Linked DNA regions of Homo sapiens: region 1 is linked to region 2. Evidence: promoter capture Hi-C in human tissues and cell types (Jung and others, 2019). All regions are on one chromosome and are shown on one strand. Each heading gives the region's core, a stretch centred on a gene start or on the middle of the fragment in contact. The rest is flanking DNA. Distances are from core to core; before and after follow the strand shown. Region 1 overlaps NFRKB (nuclear factor related to kappaB binding protein). Region 2 holds the start of TMEM45B (transmembrane protein 45B).

Region 1 (3,425 bases), core at 448-2,947, 64 kb after region 2:
CTCTCCTGCCGTCCCCTCTCTCCACCACAGCCCCTTCCACAAGGAGTCCCGTTCACTCAGGGGGTGCGGCCAAGTCAGGAAGAACCAGGGGACTCCTCAGAGCTCTGAAGCCCATTACAGCTCTAGCATACCAAGAAGTATTAACAAAACCAAGGCAGTATCTGAACTACAGTTTCCCAGGACACCACCCACCACTACAGTATTGTACTCACACCCGAGGGACAGGTGTTGTGGCATCTGAGCTGTCTTCATTTTCTTGCTGGAGAAAAAGAAAACGTTGACAGGTAAATGGACTAAAGAATTTGGGCAAACTTAAGAGCTCTGGAAACCCAGTGAGAAGGATCTGGTATTTCTTAAAAAAACATACCTTACAGAAGGCCTGATCTTTGGTCTCTAGCCATAGCTGGAAGAGGGCAGCTAATTCCTTTTCATTATCTTGGGATTGGCCTATTAGAGGAATAAAGAGATAAAAAAATAAGAAGGTCTAAGGTATTATTGAGAATCCTGCTTTCTCTTTACTAGCTGTAACTACAACACAGAGAGATTCTATCAGGAGCTGTAGCAACAATCCTTCACACATCCACTGCCTTCCAGCTGGCGGAAGTCAGCCTGGACCACCACTCTTGGATGCCACCTAATGAAATCATTCACTCCGTAGGCATTCGCTGAGTATCCACTGTGCCACGCACTGCATGTGACGCTAAGGTTACTCGGTGAATTCAGTCCCCACCCTCATGGGAGTTTATAGTCAAGTGAGGAAAGAGCACATATTTTAAAATCAATTCAAAAAGTGGTAAGCATCACAAAGGATGTCATCATAGCTTATACCAAGGTAATTATTCTATTTTTGTAGGTAAGAAAGGCTTCTGGCTAGTGGGGCACAGAGAAAATTCTATTCACTAGCATAGCAGTTAAGACCCAGGGGCAGGAAAAAGCTTGACTTTCCACAACCCGCCTAGAAAGAGATAAGCCCTGTCTCCTGTGCCCTCTTCTCAGGTCACTCTGTTCAGGCTGTCTGAGACCCTGATGGCACCTGTGTCTCCTGCCCAGCATAGAAGCCACAGGACCATCATCGGCCAGGTCTGCTTATGTGATGAATGCAGCTACCCTTCTCAAAGGGGCTGTTTACCTTTGTTTTCATGGTCAATACACAATATCACTATTTGCAGAAACCTCCCAACAATGGCAGAGTAGCTTCAACTAAAGCATCTGGCCGACAAGCTTCAAACGCTTATTATCTGGCCCTACAAGAAACATTCTGCCAGGCCCAGGTATATGTGCTCCCTCCATGGCTACTGCAGCCTGACAGATGGGGGGAGTGCTTGCAGTCAGCTACCATCATCACCTTCAGCTCACGGTGGCTTCGCCTCCACCGTTCCACTAGAGAATCACGCTCACTGAAAAATTCACAACTTCCTCCATGTTTGCAAATCTTTAGTCTTTATCTTACTGAATCTTTTAGGAACTATGGAGGCAAATGACCACTCCCCACTTCTCAGGCGATCCGGTCTCCTGGCTCCCAAGACTCAGGAAAACCCTGCTCCAGGCTTTCCCCATCTCTATAGTCAACCCCTGCCCCCGCACTCTCATGCTGTCACTCAGCCCCTCTGCCGTGAAGAGCCCTCCTCGGCCCTCTCTCCTCACTCTGTGCTTCCTCCTCAGGTAACAGCATCATCTGTGCCCTGCACCACACACATGCCAACACTCTCCCCCTTAAACTCTCTGGTCTGAATTCTAAACCCACACATCCTACTGTCTATTCAACAACTCCACTGAAATACCTCAAATGCAGCTCTAAAACTAAAGTCAGGCTGGGTGCAGTGGCTCACACCTGTAATCCAGCACTTTGGGAGGCCAAAGCAGGTGGATCACCTGGGCTCAGGAGTTCAAGACTAGCCTGGACAACATGGGGAAACCTTGTCTCTACTAAAGATACAAAAAACAGCCAGGCATGGTTGCGTACGCCTGTGGTCCCAGCTACTCAGGAGTAGGAGGAGGCAGGAGAATTGCTTGAGCCCGGGAGGCAGATGTTGCAGTGAGCCAAGATCGTGCCACTGTACTCCAGCCTGGGGACAGAGCAAGACTCTGTCTCAAAAAATAAATGAATAAATAAATAAATTTTAAAAACTAAACTCGGGATCTCCACCCTCCAAGTCCAGTCCTCCACAGCTGCTACCTGCACAAACAACACCTTCCTCCACCAGCTGCAAATCTAACAGGAGCCATGCCTCACACCATTCTCCTTCATTCCCCACAGCCAAGCCATAACCAAGCCCACCTAAGTCTTTCTCAAACGTATCCATCCTCTCTCCCTGTGTCTAAATTACCGTCAGCTCTCACAGCCCGTGGGTTGTGTGGCTGTTTTAGATCAAATCTTCCCCATGGAAAGGTTCTACCTCCTCCATCTCAAATGCTGCTGCCTCCCCTCTGCCTGTCTGGCTCAGTGCTATTCATCATACACCTCTGCTCAGATGCTGCTTCCTCAGGAAGGTCCTCCAAACTCTGCAAACTACATCAATTCCTATTATCATAAACCCCCATCCTCTCTGGTACTTTTCCTTCACAGAAAGGATCATTTTGTCATTAAATCTAAGTAAGTATTTCTTCCCCAAACAGACCTTAGGCCCTACGAGAGGAGCACACTGTCTCAGAAGCCATTGTGTCCCCCAGCACCTAACAGTGCCTGACACCCAGAAGCTGAATAAATGTAATAAATAACGAATGAATGAGTCTACCGTTTTCATAACCTGCTCTCCATACGCTTCTCCACAGACCACTCAGCACAGAGAAGTGCCTGTGAATTTCAAGAAGAAACCAACACTGGATTTCTCTCTTTTCACCATCACCAGGTAACAGCCTCCAAGTGACTTCAGATGCATGTTATGACAACTTACACACTAAGTGGGCTTTATAAACTTAAAAATAACAACCCTGTTCTTTAGAAACAACTTATTCGGGGCTGCTGCACACTCTCCTCAATAGCAAAGCCCATTTTTAGGAAAGAAAAAATTTATATTACAAATTAATCCAAAGTCATCTGTATGATTAATATAAATGTCGATGCTCTTGCAAAATACCCTTGCAGATTTAAATTTAGCCATCACCAGACTACATCATACAGAAAGGCTATTCCTTCCATCTCAGCTTTGGTCCAACCAGAGGAGTTAGTTAACCCACCTTGAGAGTACAAAAAGGGTGTTGAAGGACTCCTTCACAGAGCAAAATAAGGTCTGATATTGCTTTTTAAAACCAATCTGCAGGACTATATTGACTGGAAGGCAAATAAACTTAGGGGAAGAAATGGGAGAACGAAAACCTGTTGGGGTAGGTAATACGGATCACTTACCAAGCAACTTCCACTGCTGGGTTTTCTCTTTGAATTCAACAAATGGAGAGAAACTGGAAGGAACAGCTGCAAGAAATGG
Region 2 (3,353 bases), core at 276-2,775:
TTCGTAGTTTCGCCGACCTCAGGAGTGAAGCCACAGACCTTCGCAGGGAGTGTTACACCTCTTAAAAGTGGTGCGTCTGGAGTTGTTTGCTCCTCCCTGTGGGTTCGTGGTGTCGCTGACTTCAGGAGTGAAGCCACAGACCTTCACAGTGAGTGTTATGGCTCTTAAAGGTGGCGGCTCCAGAGTTGTTTCTTGTGGTGGCTTCCTGGTCTCGCTGGTTTACAGGAGTGAACCTGCAGACCTTCACTGTGAGTGTTAAAGCTCATAAAGGTAGTGTGGACCTAAAAGGTGAGCAACAGCAAAATTTATTGCAAAGAGCGAAACAACAAAACCCCAACACCATCGAAGGGGACCCAAACGCAGCTGCCGCTGGCTCGGATGGCCAGCTTTTATTCCCTCATTGGCCCCGCCCACATCCTCCTGATTGGTCCTGCCCACATCCTCCTGATTGGTCCATTTTACAGAGCGCTGATTGGTCCATTTTACAGAGTGCTGATTGGTCCATTTTACAGAGTGCTGATTGGTCCGTTTTTACAGAGTGCTGATTGATGTGTTTACAAACCTTTAGCTAGACATAGAGCATTGATTGGTGCATTTACAATCCTTTGGCTAGAGAGAAAAGTTCTCCAAGTCCCCACCAATTAGCTGGACACAGAGCACTGATTGGTGCATTTTTACAGAGTGCTGATTGGTGTGTTTACAAACCTTTAGCTAGACACAGAGTGCAGATTGATGCTTTTACAATCCTTTAGCTAGACAGAAAAGTTCTCCAAGTCCCCATCCGACCCAGAAGCCCAGCGGGTTTCACCTCTCAGTAGCTTACAGAAGAGGACCCTGCTGCCACAGCACAATACCACAAAGAAAGTCATGCTCTCCTCAGCAGGTAGCCCCCTTCTCCGGGACAGGAACTTTGTTTCCTTCTTAGCTCTATCGCCAGCACCTAGAACAGTGCCCACCTGTCAGATCTGTTATCAGATGGGAACATGGCAGATTTGTTGAATGAATGAAGGAATGAATGAACTATGTGACACTCAAACTTAGCCACCAAACTTAAACTAAAAAAACTGGGTTGTGGTCCCTGATGGACCGTTGGCACCTTCTTCCTTTGCTGGACGGTGATCCGTGGCTGTTTCTGCGGTGTGTTCGCAGTGGTTGCCTGGCTTGGTAACAAACACTCTTCGGAGCCACAGCCTGTTCTCAGGGTCCTCGCCGCCTCCCAGGCCCTGCGATCTCTTTGCATCTCAGGAGGTCCAGGTTGGTTGCAGTCCTCTTGGGTGACTCAGGAACCAGCCTCTCCTGAAGCACACAGCTTAGGGAGTTCCTGAGGCCAGAGACATCTCCACGGGAAAGTCAAAGGCCTGGAGGAAGTGCGGACCTGACGACAGATGCCCCGCACGCTGGCCGGGACCGGGAAGGGCGGTCAAGGGTGGAAAGGGGCTGGCGGCTGCCAGGCCTGGCGGAGTGGAGCGGGGCGGGGCGCAGCGGGGCGGGGCGGGCCTGGAGCTGCACCTGCTTCTGGGCGGACGCACTTGGCGCGCGGCGCGGGCTGCAGACGGCTGCGAGGCGCTGGGCACAGGTCAGACGTCCGTACCCGCAGGGGGCTCGAACCTGGAGGAGGGCTCGAAGGGAGAGGGGGCCCCGCCAAGGAGCGGGGCTGTGATGGAGAGGAGGTTCCGACTCGCAGGGGACCTGCGGGGGAGGGGACGCGGACAGGGAGGGGCTCTGGGACAGGGGTGAAGGCTGCGCTAGGGGAGGACGGGAGGGGATGGAGGGCCCTGGTGTCGCGGAAGCCCAGCTGGGGCCCCCTCCGGGCTGCGGAACCGGTGCGCACACTACTCCCACCGCCCCCGAGTGCCTCTGTCCGGCTGGCCGCGGCCCTGGAACGAATATTGCTCAGTCCCCCGCGAGTCAGGTCTGCCGCGTTGCCCGGTGAGGGGAAGGTGTGAAGCCCCGGGCCTCCGTCTGCCCGGTGAGTCCGGGGACGCGCGCCCCCGGGGATGCCATCTGGCTCCTGGGCTGTGACCAGTCACAGCTCACATAGCTCTGGGCACTGGTACCGACTGCCTTTCCTTGTTAGCTGCGATACACAAATACACGAGCCAGATCCTTTCCTGAGGCCAGGAAGCCTGGAATCTAATAACACCGGGCGGTGGATAAAGTCCCCCGAGCCAGTGCTTAGCTTCCGTTAATGGAGCCATGGATGGAAGCGGATGTCAGGCGCAGTGGGGGAGAAATTTGCGGGGGTGGCCCTGTCTAGGGCCAGAGAAACAACCTCTGAAGCTTTGATCCAGCCCTAGAGGGAAGAAAGATGTGAGTTTCAGCCAGGGAAACGTAGCACTTTAAGAAATAGAAACCCTTTCAAAATTTGAGGGCAGGTAGCTCTCCTAAAAGTTGCAGAAATGGCCACTTCTTTTTTTTTTTTTTTTTTTTTTTGAGACGGAGTCTCGCTCTGTCGCCCAGGCTGGAGTGCAGTGGCGCAATCTCGGATCACTGCAAGCTCCACCTCCCGGGTTCACACCATTCTCCTGCCTCAGCCTCCCGAGTAGCTAGGACTACTGGCGCCCGCCACCACGCCCGGCTAATTTTTTGTATTTTTTTTTTTTTTGGTAGAGACGGGGTTTCACCGTGTTAGCCAGGATGGTCTCGATCTCCTGACCTCATGATCCACCCGCCTCAGCCTCCCAAAGTGCTGGGATTACAGGCGTGAACCACCGCGCCCAGCTAGAAATGGCCACTTCTTTCACGTTCTCTTCGACCGCTTTCTGCGGTGTCTGCCCTTTTCCTCCTCCTGCACCTTTTTGTCTCCTAGGGTCGCATAGCCTTCCAAACAGGCCTGCCTACAGCATTTTACCTGCAATTTTACACTCATTTTAATAGAAAGGATGGCTTATTGTTCATGAGAGACGTGTACTGTTTTTAACCAGATGTGTAATATCTTCAGTATAACCTGGATGTTGTGCAGTGGGAAGTTATGGAAAGAATCAGGACACGTGGTTAGGTAGGGGCCCAGGGGCGTCAGACTTAGCTCTTTGTGACAGTGAGCTTCTTGGTTTAATAAGGATATTGGCTCCCTCTGTTCCTGGGGTTTCTGGGAAAAGATATGGAACTGATATGAAGGTTTTATTGAATATGGCCCACTGATTTTACAAGTGGAGGTGACTGAGATAAGCAGAAGGTGAGGCATGACCTCTGGCTGTGCATTATTTGTTCTGATATTACAGGAGCCAAGCATTCCATTTCCTTCTTTTTAAAGAGCTTTGATTTCCTCTCACATCTTCATGAAGATGGAAACAGTGCCCCCACTTACTTATCCTCAGGCCACACCTGTTCCCATTTATTCCATGAGTTCCTCC

The links. The method cuts DNA at HindIII sites, captures the fragments that hold promoters and counts their contacts. A contact is called where the count stands out against the background at its distance.
Region 1: a fragment that was not itself captured here is called in contact with the fragment with the promoter of TMEM45B in region 2 in 2 of the 25 tissues and cell types used here (liver and thymus).

Annotation. Positions count from the first base shown.
Region 1 is chr11:129,878,097-129,881,521 of GRCh38, forward strand. NFRKB (nuclear factor related to kappaB binding protein) reads right to left here. Exons shown (of 27, transcript NM_001143835.2): 13 at 3,347-3,412; 14 at 368-447; 15 at 213-259. Among named protein-coding and RNA genes, the nearest start is that of NFRKB, 16 kb to the right of the region's middle. The HindIII fragment of the contact is 5,602 bases long and covers 1-3,425 here.
Region 2 is chr11:129,814,323-129,817,675 of GRCh38, forward strand. TMEM45B (transmembrane protein 45B) reads left to right here and starts at 1,526. Exons shown (of 6, transcript NM_138788.5): 1 at 1,526-1,576. LOC124902793 (a long non-coding RNA gene) reads right to left here and starts at 365. Exons shown (of 2, transcript XR_007062952.1): 1 at 1-365. The HindIII fragment of the contact is 7,942 bases long and covers 1-3,043 here.